2 separate regions of the Homo sapiens genome follow, and region 1 is linked to region 2. The links are contacts of gene promoters, found by promoter capture Hi-C in human tissues and cell types (Jung and others, 2019). All regions are on one chromosome and are shown on one strand. Each heading gives the region's core, a stretch centred on a gene start or on the middle of the fragment in contact. The rest is flanking DNA. Distances are from core to core; before and after follow the strand shown. Region 1 overlaps SPNS2 (SPNS lysolipid transporter 2, sphingosine-1-phosphate). Region 2 holds the start of GGT6 (gamma-glutamyltransferase 6).

Region 1 (6,647 bases), core at 338-2,837, 41 kb before region 2:
GAACATTATGAAAAGAGAACCGGAAAATGTTTAAAAGACTAATATTCGAAAATACCAGAAGTGAAAAATATGTATTAAAATAAAAAATGGAATAATTAGGTGAGTTAATGAGTAGACTACACCTAGTTGAAAAGAAAAGTGAATTAGAAGCTAGATCTGAGGAAATCAGCGTCAATGCAACACAGGGAAGGGTGAGGGAGAACGAAGGCTGTTTGTGGCACTGCCTGACTCGAGTGGCCTGTGGCCCATTGGCCATGGGTTGGCGTATGGGGAGAACAGAAGGAGAAGAGGCTGGACAGTGGGCAGGGTCTGAGTGTGAAAGGCTTGAAGGCCAAGATAAGGCATGTAGGTTTTGTCTTGGGGCAGTAGGGAGCCAGAGAAGGTTTTGGAACAGGGCAGTCCGTGTAAAATGTGTGTCTCGGGCCGGGCGCGGTGGCTCACGCCTGTAATCCCAGCACTTTGGGAGGCTGAGGCGGGTGGATCACGAGGTCAGGAGATCGAGACCATCCTGGCTAACATGGTGAAACCCCGTCTCTGCTAAAAATACAAAAAATTAGCCGGGTGTGGTGGCGGGTGCCTGTAATCCCGCTACTCGGGAGACTGAGGCAGGGGAATGGCATGAACCCAGGAGGCGGAGCTTGCAGTGAGCCGAGATCGCGCCACTGCACTCCAGCCTGGGCGACAGAGCGAGACTCCGTCTCAAAAACAAAACAAAAACAAACAAACAAAAAAGATGTGTGTCTCAGGATATTCATTCTGGGACCAAGTGTGGGAAGGGGCAGCAGAGGAAGCTGAAGGCTACTCAGGGCCGGGGTTTGTAGGCTCACGAGGAAGTGCCAGGATGGGGATGGGGGAACGGAGGGAGAGTGGGGACAGAGGAAGAGCCAGCTCAAACCGAAACCAGACAGTGCCTCTGTTTTGGGGGTAAGTCTCCTTCTGCCTGTTCTCCCCTCCCGTCTTTGGCCAGCCCAGCGACTCCTGCTTCAGCAGACTTGGGTTCTGAAGGCACAGCCGGGCAGCCCCTGCGGCTGTTCCCCAAAGCCCTCCTTTTCAAGGAGTGGCCCCAAAACCTCATTCACCCTGAGGCCTGAGAGCCCAACACAAGGTTTACATCCTGAGTAGGGGATCACAGAGCAGGTGTTCCCGTCCTTCCACCGGGAAGTCTGAGCGTGGTGAGCTTTCAGGCGCTGATGGGGCCATCTGTCCTGAGCATTCTCCGTCAGCTTGGCCAGCCCAGGCCGTCCCTTGGATGGCAGAGCCTGGCCCCCGCCCCACCCATGCCTGCCTGAGCACCCTCCCTGCCCACAGGATGTGGAGGATGGTAGGTCTTCTCCAAATAACAGATCAGCCATGTAAAAATAGCCGTGGCTCAGCCCAGGCCGAAGCAAGGGCTGAATGCAGGCTCCAAGGCCACAGGGCGGGGGCTCAGGGCTCCCTCAAGCTCAGACTTGCCCTTTCCTGCTCCAAAACTGCTTTCTGGGGTCATACAGGCCATGTGTGCCATGGGGATGGCTCCGCTCACCATGGACAGGGGTCCTGGGGCTGCCCACCAGGACACCGAGGGCCCGTGGGGGTTCTGAGCTCTGGGCTGCCGTGAGAGGTGGACAGCACTGGCTTTCTGACGGCCTCCTGCCAGCCTGGCGAGGAGGAGGGAGTGAGGCCCTGGCCCAAGACCCCGAGGCAGGCGGGCTGGTCTGACCCCTCCCTCCCTGCTGTCACGGCCCTGCCCGCTCGGCCCTGGCTCCCTGCCCTGCCTCTCCATTGTCCTAGACCTGTGGGCTCAGCACACCCTCCACAGGATGTCCCTGCGGGAACTGCTGGGAAAGCCGCCCCTACCAAAACCAGGGGTGGGGCTGCCAGTCTGCCCAGAAAGCTCTCCTCAAACAAACAAAGACCACGGGATTGCGGGGTGGTGGGCAGGGGAAGCTTCTAGCTTGGAGGCCCAGCCCAGGCTGGTCTTTATTCTCAGCAGAGTTGCCTGCTGGCCTCTGTGTCCCCATCGGACACAGTCCACATGGGCAAGGCTTCGCCTATCCTGTCCCTTCTGCCAGGAACATTCTCTCAGCCCCCTCCCCGTCCCTACCCTGATTGTGTTCAGGCCCCTCCATGGCCTGTGACCTCCAGGGGGCCAGGCGGGGTCCTCCCTCCTGTCTGTCCTGAGCAGAGAGAGGGCAGCAGTGATGGATCCCACCTCCCTCCTGACCCTGGACTGCCATGTCCCAAGGGAAGACACTGAGGGGCAGGCTGGTCCAGACTGTGCCTTCCTAATTTGGTCTGTCATCTCGGGCAACTTCCTCCACCTCTTGGGGCCTCAGTGACCTCAGCTGTTAGATAGGGATGGACGTGGGGAGGATCAGGTGAGCTAAGGGCACGTAGGTGCTTGGGCAAGTTCATCAGGCTGGGGCCGGTGGGTGGGGACGGGGCGTGCCAGCTTCTGCCAGGAGTCCACCTGCAGTCCTGGGGACTTCTGCCCATCTAAGTGAGGAGCCAGAAACCAGGGAGGGGTTGAAAGAGCTAAGAAGGGCCCGTGCTTCCTGCTCCACTGTGGGCAAGAGGAGAGAATGGAGCATGATGGCCGGGGTCTGGCGAAGGTCTGGGTCACGTCCCTCCAGTCCCTCGTCACCCCCCCGGGAGGGGGCTTTTTCAAGGATCCTACCATGGTGTTGGGGGGCGGGGTGGAGAGAGCGCGCTGTGGTTCTCTGCCGCCTTCTAAACACCAAACCCTGTCCTGGTCTTTAGCCCAGTCCTCCCTCCACAGCCTCATCTCTCGCTGCTTCCTCTTGAGCATCCTCAGGCCATGGCCTGACCTGTCTCCTTGCTGTCCTCAGCAGGCCCTGAACTTTCCCTGACCTTGGGAACATCAGCTGGGACCTTCCCCCTTCCCAGCATGGCAGTCTGGGGAGTGATTTAGAGCAAGGACTCTGGAGTCTGCCAAACTGGGATTTAAATTCTGGCTCAGCCGCACACTCGCTGTGTGACATCACTTCTTTTGGCCTCCATTGTCTCCTCTGTAAAATGAAGAGAACAGAATCAAAAGAGATCATCTGTGCATATGTCAAGGCTGCATGCTGGGCCTTGCCTATATATCCATAAATAATAACTGCAGTTATCATGAACACTAAGCATCATGCCTCGTGAACCATTATACAATATTGCTGATCTGAAGTTTATATTTCAGCGTATATTCTTGATGTTAAGTATTATCTTAGCGGTAAACTCCTATGCATGCTTCAGTGCCCAGCTTTGTCACCACCGCCTCCGGGAAGCCTCTCTTCATTATCCTGGCAGGATCTGGAGCTCCTTGGTGGTTCCCCAACATAGGTTGTCCTTTAAACAGAGCAACCTATGAACAAGATCTGCCCCTGGCCAGACAGGGGGAAACTTCTCTTCTGATTCCTTCTGTCCACTTGCCACCTAGCACAGACAGGCACAGGGAGAACAATTCCTCCTCCTCCCCCAACATGTGTCAGTCCTGATGCAACTGGAAATCTCCCTCCTGCCACATTCTGATCTGATCTCAGGCAGGTCCTTGGAGGCAGGCCCAGCAGGAAAAATTCTTTTTCTAAATGTGAGGAAATAATTTCTGCCTTGACTAATTTAAACAAGGGCCCAGTGTTGACCAAGGCCGGCCTGCTCTGGGCAGGGTGTGGCATTAAGCACCTTGCACGTGCTATCCAGCACCCAGACCCACCCTGGAGAGCTGCTATTTTTATCTTCATTTTACAGATGAGGATGCTGGCATGTTGGCGCTGGCTCAGGCCAGCTCATGAGAGTCAATTGTTAACATTTCAGGAATGGTGTGTGAGCTAGTCGTAAAATACAACCATTGTTAAAAACTAAATGATATCGGCTTACAATTAAATAATTAGAAACAAGGTAATAACTACTCAAAAGTCCTCACTTCCTAATTATTTTGCTGTGTTTCAGCGTTATCTGTGGTCCTATGGTGAGTGGCGTCTGTTCTATTTGTGTGGTAGAAACACTGGACAATGGCGTGTCCCCGCACATCCCTTTCCAACGCCCATCAGTGACACGACGTGGGTAGCTTGAACTCAGCCAGGGCGGAGTGTTTACACCACAGAAATGGGCAAACACGGCCGGGCACGGTGGCTCACCCCTGTAATCCCAGCACTTTGGGAGGCCGAGGCAGGAGGATCACCTGAGATCAGGTGTTTGAGACCAGCCTGGCCAACATGGCAAAACCTTGTCTCTACTAAACATTCAAAAATTAGCCGGGCGTGGTGGCAGATGCCTATAATCCCAGCTACTTGGGAGGCCGAGGCAAGAGAATCGCTTGAACCCGGGAGGCAGAGATTGCAGTGAGCTGAGACGGTGCCACTGCACTCCAGCCTGGGCGACAGAGCGAAACTCCATCTCAGAAAAAAAAGAAATGAGCAAACACGCCACATCAGGGCTCCCCTCACCCTTTATCAGAGCCAGTTAAACATATATCAGCACACCACTGAAGGTGAGACACAGAATGGCTGTGGCCTGACTGAGGTCACCGGCTGGGAAGGAGCGGAGGTGAATTTGAGCCCAGGGAGTGTGCCTCATGCCCGGATTTGTGCACCCGCATGCTGATTCTCCCCAAGGCCTCTGGAATTAACAGGTCTGCTCGTACACCCACCACCCACGCGCACTCACTGGCCTGTTCTTGCTGGCATAAAAGAGGGGCAGTCACTCCTCCAGCCAGGTTCAGGGGAGCTCTGCCTGGCCCTCTCGCCTCTCTTTCACCTCTCTCTTTTCCTCCTTCCTCCCTCCCTCTTTCTCTTCTCTCAGGTCCCATCTCGCCAGGGTCTCAGGCCCACGGAGGAGCAGCCGGGACCACGCACACATTCAGCCTGGCGGTCAGAGGCCAACTGGCTGCCATGTCTGTCACTCCCAGCCTTTGTCTGGCCATCTGCCCATCAGCTGTGGGACTGCTTTCCAGGGGGAGGGATGGGGGGCCACCTCGCTGTGTGACCTAGGGTCCACCCTACCTTGCTCTGGGCCTCTTCATCCCACCTGGGACCTCCAAGGCCCCTCCCATCACTGGCAGTGGCCTCCCTGTGGAATCTTCTAAACCTCTTGTTCTGGAAGAACAAAGCCAGGTCACGGCCTTTGTTCGACATCCCCTCATGTTTTCCTTTCTCACCCATGGACGTCACAGTCATCACAGTGGGCTCCGGGGCCCCACCCCAGCCTCTTTCCTGCTCCTCCAACATGCTAAGTAAACTCCTGCCCCAGGGCCTAGGCACTTGCTGTTCTTGCCCCAATAATTGCGTGATTTGTTTCCTTACCTCCTCCAGGTCCTGGCTGAAATACCCACTTTGACCGCTCAATTTAAAATTGTGGTGGCCGGGTGCAGTGGCTCACGCCTGTAATCCCACACTTTGGGAGGCCGCGGCAGGTAGATCACTTGAGGTCAGGAGTTTGAGACCAGGCTGGCCAACATAGAGAAACCCCGTCTCTACTAACAATACAAAAATTAGCTGGGCGTGGTGGCAGGCGCCTGTAATCCCAGCTACTCAAGAGGCTAAGGCAGGAGAATTGCTTGAACCTGGGAGGCGGAGGTTGCAGTGAGCGGAAATCGCACCACTGCACTCCAGCTGCCTGAGCAACGGAGCAAGACACTGTCTCACAAACAAATAAAACACCAGCTAACTATATCAATAAATTTCTCTCAGCCAGGCACGGTGGCTCACGCCTGTAGTCCCAGCACTTTGGGAGGCCGAGGCAGGTGGATCACCTGAGGTCAGGAGTTGGAGACCAGCCTAGCCAACACGGTGAAACCCCGTCTCTACTAAAAATACAAAAATCAGCAGAGCGTGATGGTGTGTGCCTGTAATGCCAGCTACTCGTGAGGCTGAGGCAGAGGTTGCAGTGAGCGGAGATTGCACCATTGCACTCTAGCATGGGTGATAGAGTGAGACTGTTGTCTCAAAAAATATAAAATCGTGGCATCCACTTGCTCTCACACACACCCTTCCAAGCTCCTGTTTCAGCCCCTCCCACCCTCTGTAGCACTTGCCACCATCTGACAAGCTGTGTTATTGATTTGTTTATTTCTTTATTGTCTATTTCTCCTCATTCGAATGAAAGCTTCATAGGATAGGGGTTTTTGTCTCTTTTGTTGATTGATATATCCCAAACACCTAAAACGGTTCCTGGTGCATTGTAGGTACAAAAAAATTGTTGTTGTTGAATGACAAGACGGTAGAATGGACAGATGGATGACAGTGTTTTCAGCCATTAGGAAAGGCCCTGCGGCGCGCTGGGAGTGAGGGCAGCTGTGTGGTCTAGCAGGTGCGAAATCTGGAGTTCCAGGCCCAGTTCTGCCTGATTTGCTGTGTGACCTTGCGTAGATCTCTTCCCCTCTCTGAGCTTCTTTCACAAGTAGAACAAGGGGTGCAGTGTGGTAAAGTATAAGGAACACAGGCTCTGGAGTCAGGCAGCTGGTGTCAGATCCCCACTGGAACATTTACTGCCTGTGGGGTCTTGGCCAAGTCACTCTCCCTCTGAGTCTGTCTCCGCATCTGTGAGGTGGGAGGGGGCTGGAAAGATACGTAATACATGAGATACAAAGATACATGATGAGATATGGCTGGGCGCGGTGGCTCACACGTGTAATCCCAGCACTTTGGGAGGCCAAAGTGGGTGGATCACTT
Region 2 (5,408 bases), core at 2,804-5,303:
AACTGCTACTGGTCACCCTCGCTTCTTGGTTTGAGAAGCTGTTTATAGAGGGCTGTGGTCCAGAGAGGACCTAACCCTTGGGGGAGGTCAGGGCTAACCTTCGCCTTGAATTTCCACACGCTCAACTCCAACCCCTTTGTACCCAAGCCCCTGGGGCGCCTTCTCACCCTCTCAGCCGCTTCCCTGCTTTGCTGTCTGTTCTAGAAAGTGAAATGAAAACATTCACCTTGCACATCTGGTGCCCCAGGAGGCAGGAGGTGAGCGGAGCAGGGGGAAGCTGAAAGATACCAACCCAGGCTCTCCCCTCTCTGGTTGTTGGTCACCTGTGCTGCCCATCAGGGAAGCCCTGACTCCAGTTGCTTCAAAAGCTGTTGGAAAATTAACCAAGAAGCAGGAATGGTGCTTGGTTTCCGGGAGACTTGATCTTTATTTTGTACCCAGTCTGGTTGAGGCAGATAGGTAAGGGGTGTCCTGAAGGGAAGGACAGAGATGCCAACAGTACCCTGGGCTCTGCCTGTCCTGCTTCGTGGGGCCCAGGGCCTAGGCAGAGGCTCTGCACTCTTTCCACTGTCCTCCTGAAAGCTGGATCTGAACTCAGTGCTAGCCCCAGGCCCTACTGCTTTTTCGTTATTACCCTGATTTTCTTAGCTGATAAAATAGCTAGAGATTCCATCCGGTGTGGGTGATCTGAAGAATGATTGTTAGCTCTGGATGCCAGAACTCAAGTCTAGGTAACTTAAAAGGCCAGAGGTTGGGGCCTGAGCCAGCAGTGAGCACATAATAAATCCTTTTTTTTTTTTTTTTTTTTAGACAGGGTTTCCCTCTTGTTGCCCAGGTGGGGTTGCAATGGTGCGATCTTGGTTCACTGCAACCTCCACCTCTCGGGTTCAAGTGATTCTCCTGCCTCAGCCTCCCAAGTAGCTGGGATTACAGGTGCCCGCCACCATGCCCAGCTAATTTTTTGTATTTTTAGTAGAGACGGGGTTTCGCCATGTTGCCCAAGCTGGTCTCGAACTCCTAGCCTCAGGTGATCCACCTGCCTTGGCCTCCCAAAGTGCTGGGATTACAGGCATGAGCCACCGCACCCAGCTATTTTTTTATTATTATTATTATTATTTTAAAGACAGGTTCTCACTCTGTTGTCCAGGCTGGAGTGCAGTGGTGTGATCCTAGCTCTCTGCAGCCTTGAACTCCTGAGCTCAAGCGAGCTTCCTGCCTCAGCCTCCCAAGCAGCTGGGACAACAGGCATGTGCCACCGCCCCTGGCAAATTTTTAAATTTTTAGTACAGATGAGATCTTGCTTTGTTGTCTAGGCTAGTTTCAAACTCCTGGCCTCGAGGTATCTTCCTGCCTTGACCACCCAAAGTGCTGAGATTACAGGTGTGAGGCACCACACCCTGCGGGTGCACACTCCATTGCTGCTGTGTCTGCTCTGCTCCTGCCCCCATGCTTCAGATAACTCTGCCTTCTGCCAGACCCACCCCCATCCTGTTAGAACCCCTGGAAGGGGCAGCAGGCATGGGGGACACTGGAGACATGGGCGTGCTCTGTGTGGGCTGCCACCTGGAGCAGGGTCCCTTGGCCACAAGTGCTGGGATGCTCTGTTGGTTCTTGCTGACCCTGATGCTGGTGCTGGGCCTGGGTAGGGGGCCTTGCTGCCAGATGCCTGAGTAGGGTGTGAGTCATGGCCCTGGCCACATCAGGGGTCCCTGAAGCCACAAGCCCCAACACATCAGCCTCTGTGTCATCCAGGCTGCCACGGAGGATGAGGGGGCAGGCCCAGGCACTAGTGGTAGACTTGGCCACCAGGTTGCTGAGCAGAACCCCAGTGCTTGGGGACAGGTGTGCAGAGCCAAAGGAGCAGTTGAGCGAGGAGGTGAGAAGGAGCACAGAGCCGCTGCTGTCCACGGCGGCCAGGGCACTGCTCTCGGGGCTCACAGCAGTCTGCAGGAACGGTGGGCAGGGGTCAGGGATGGGCGCCCCGGAGCGCAGGGCTGCCTCCAACAGTGCCAGCAGTTCTGGGCCAGCTGAGGGACTGGGGGTGGTGAACAGGATGCCCTGGGGCACAGGTAGCTGCTCTGCTGGTTCCAAAGTGGGCCTGGGCACAGCCGAGGGCACCTCCACCCCCAGGTCTCCCGCCAGTAGACTCAGTAGAGCATCCCCAGCAAGGTCTGAGGTGGGAGCGAGGGCTGCGCTGCGAAGCACAGCTGCCAGTTGTGGGTTGGTGGCTCGGGCCCCAGCGCCCAGGGGTGTCCCATCAGCATGGCAAAGTAGTGGACAGAGGCCTTCTGTGCCCCGAGCCACCAGAGCCCTTGCCAGGGGTGTGTCCACCAGGAAGCCCTCCTGAGCCAGCGTGGTGGGGCCCACTAGCAGGCGTGGCCAGGGCAGGCGGCCGAAGCGTGCATGCAGCAGGTGCAGGGTGGGCAGAGCCGCGGGCAGCCCCAGGCCGGGGGCCAGGGTCTGTGCTGGGCCTGATGTCAGGGCCGTGGAATTGCCTGAGGAGCTATCGTGGAAGAGGCCCCAAAACATGGCACCTGCAGGAGACAGAGGGGTCCCTCAGCAGCCGCAGGTCAAGGGTCACTGACTTGTTTCAGTCAAGATCCCTTGACTGAGCCTGGGATCAGGAGTTACTGACCAGGCCTGAGGTCAAAGTTCCACAGACCCGGGCTCAAGGGTCATAGCCTGGGGTTGGACTGCTGCCCAAACCCTAAGTCCTGCTCACTTAGCAGTCTTGAGGTCAGTGCTACTGACTCCCTAAGTTCCAGGTCACTGATCAGGCTGTGGGTTGGGGTTGCAGTCTGGGGTCAGGGGTCACTGACCTAGCCCCGTGGCATGAGGATGCACCACTGCCAGGCACAATGCAGCTCCAACTCCAGCATCCACGACGTTGCCCCCGGCAACAAGCAGCTCTCGGCCTAGGTGGGAGCATGTGGCTGCAGCAAGGAAGGCACTGTCATGCAGCAAGGAGGGGGGCTAGGCTGGGCTGGTGACCCCTGACCCTCCCCTCCCCAAGCCGCCCCCAGCACTGACTGACCTGCAGGGCTGATGATGGCACCGTGGTGGTATACGCCAGGGCCGTGGGAGTGTCCGCCGGGTGGAGGGGCCACAGAGCCCAAGCTTCCTGTCGACCTGCCCTGATTCTGGAGCTGCCTCACAGCCAGGGAGCAGCCAACAGCCAGCAGCAGCAGGGCTGCCACTACACGGGCCCAGGTTCCGGGCAGCCCGCCAGCCTTGTTCCTGCAGAGGGGGGGTGTCCTGAGCCACGGCTGGGACAGAGGGATGCCCAAGGACCCCAAGAGACCCCAGGGAATATTTCCCAAAAGGTTTGATTTAGCAAGAGGAGCACAAGTCAGCCAAGGAGAAAGGGCTTCTTGGCAGCGGGTGCATCTTGGGCAGACATGGGGATGGGAAAGCATCTGGGGAAACTGAGCCTAGCTAGGGAGGGAGCCTCTGGAGGGGAGATTGGTGGGGCAGAGTCCACTCAGGTGGGAGGGAGGCCCAGTGGGGTGTGGCAGGCAGGAGAGAAGGGGCTGGGGAGCAGGCCCAGCCAGGCGTAGTCAGGCCCCAACCTGCCCAGCAGGTGCCTCCTGCACCAGGACTTGGGGGCTGGGGACCTTTGACAAAGCAGCAGATGGGACAGAGGCTGGCTTGGTACAAATGTCCCTCCAGATGCACAGACTTTTGATTGGGTCAGGCCAAGTCTCGGGCTACAGCCTGGGTTTTCCCCCAAATTGACCGTACAGTGCCTGGAGCTAAACCCAGCGGGGAGTCGCCTGGTCCCCCTGAGGGGCTCCAGAGAGAGGGACTTGCCAACCTCAAGCCTGGGGAGCCTGGTGCCCAGACCCCTCCCTTACTTACCTGGAAGAGTCCTGGTGCCTCCGGGGGTTTAGAACCAGCGCCTCTGATGTCTCCTCCTCCTCCACTTCCTCCTCCGACTCCAAGCTTGGCTCCCAGGGCAGCAGCTTCTGATAGACCACGGGCTCTTCTGCCCGCTCCATGGCCCCCCAGTGCTCGCCCCAGCCCTCCTGCCTGCCAGCCTTTCCGGCTGTGTCTCAGAGGCCCTGCCCAAGCCTGGCAGGTGGGAGGTGGCAGCGACCTTGGGGAAGGGTGGGGGTGGAATCCAGAACAGGTCTGGGCAGGGCACGGGGCCAAGGAGGCTGCATGTGAGCCTGCCCCATTAGGACACAAGGCCCGAGGAGCTCTCGCGACAGGGTTCCCGGGGTGACTGCCTGTAAGGGGCCACAGCTCAGTGAGGTCGAGAAGGAGTTCAGCCTTAATGCCACAACCTTGATACTCAGGGCACCTGCTGGGCTCCTCCCCTTGGGGGATGTAGCCCATGGATCCCACCCACCTGGGACTCTAGGGACTGTGGACTTGAATTAGAGCTACGGTTTCACGGTGGCTTGGGTCAGAGCTCCCACGTGCTTGAGTCTGCACGTGACTAGGTTCTGGCGTAGGGGTGTCTGGTCTCTGGCCGGGGTCAAGGCTCAGCCTGTGGCTACTCTGGGTCTGGGTTTCTTTGAGGAGCAACTTGGTTCGTAACTCCCTGTGCGTGTTTTGCGACTCTTGTCCAGAAGGTAGCGCCACAGCCTGGAAACCAACATTTCTAAATTCATTCTGGGATTCCCATCAAGGACTTGTTGCAAAACAGTGCTGTTTGTAACAGTCCCAAATTGGAAAGTGCCCAAACATCCATTATCGTTAGAATGAATGATGTAAGTCACAATGGACCACTCTGCAGCAAAGAGAGTGAGTGATCTACAATTATATGCAATAATATACACAGGTCTGACAAGCATAAGGACGAGGGAAAGCAGCCAGGCAGGAGACAGCGCACGCTATATGCTTTCATTTACACAAAGTACACAAACAGGCAACAACAAAAGAGCAACAACAGTCTGCCCTTAGAAGTCAGATAGTGACTGGAGGAGGTACCAGGGGGTTTCTGGAATGCTGGAGATGTCCTTTCTTTCCTTCCTTTCTTTCCTTTCCTTTTTCCTTTACCTTTCTTTTCTTTCTCTTCTTTCTTTCTTGACAGAGTTTTCATTCTTGTTGCCCAGGCTGGAGTGCAATGGTGCAATCTCAGCTCACTGCAACTTCCACCTCCTGGGTTCAAGCAATTCTTCTGCCTCAGCCTCCCGAGTAGCTGGGATTACAGGCACATGCCACCACGCCTGGCTAATTTTTTGTATTTTTAGTAGAGACAGGGTTTCACCATGTTGGCCAGCCTGGTCTTGAACTCTTGACCTCAGGTGATCCGCCCGCCTCAGCCTCCCAAAAGTACTAGGATTACGGGTGTGAGCCACCGCGCCCGGCCGAGATGTTGTTTCTTAATCTGAGTGTTGGTGACACGAGTGCCCTGGGTGTGAAAATGCATTGAGTTGGGCATTGATGACGTGTACTTTTCT

What was found. The method cuts DNA at HindIII sites, captures the fragments that hold promoters and counts their contacts. A contact is called where the count stands out against the background at its distance.
Region 1: a fragment that was not itself captured here is called in contact with the fragment with the promoter of GGT6 in region 2 in 1 of the 25 tissues and cell types used here (pancreas).

Annotation. Positions count from the first base shown.
Region 1 is chr17:4,517,822-4,524,468 of GRCh38, forward strand. The region is part of intron 2 of SPNS2 (SPNS lysolipid transporter 2, sphingosine-1-phosphate); the gene reads left to right. Among named protein-coding and RNA genes, the nearest start is that of SPNS2, 22 kb to the left of the region's middle. The HindIII fragment of the contact is 4,831 bases long and covers 1-4,003 here.
Region 2 is chr17:4,556,524-4,561,931 of GRCh38, forward strand. GGT6 (gamma-glutamyltransferase 6) reads right to left here and starts at 4,054. Exons shown (of 4, transcript NM_001288702.2): 1 at 3,859-4,054; 2 at 3,035-3,237; 3 at 2,820-2,933; 4 at 404-2,534. The coding sequence starts at 3,998. The coding sequence ends at 1,492. The HindIII fragment of the contact is 6,687 bases long and covers 3,530-5,408 here.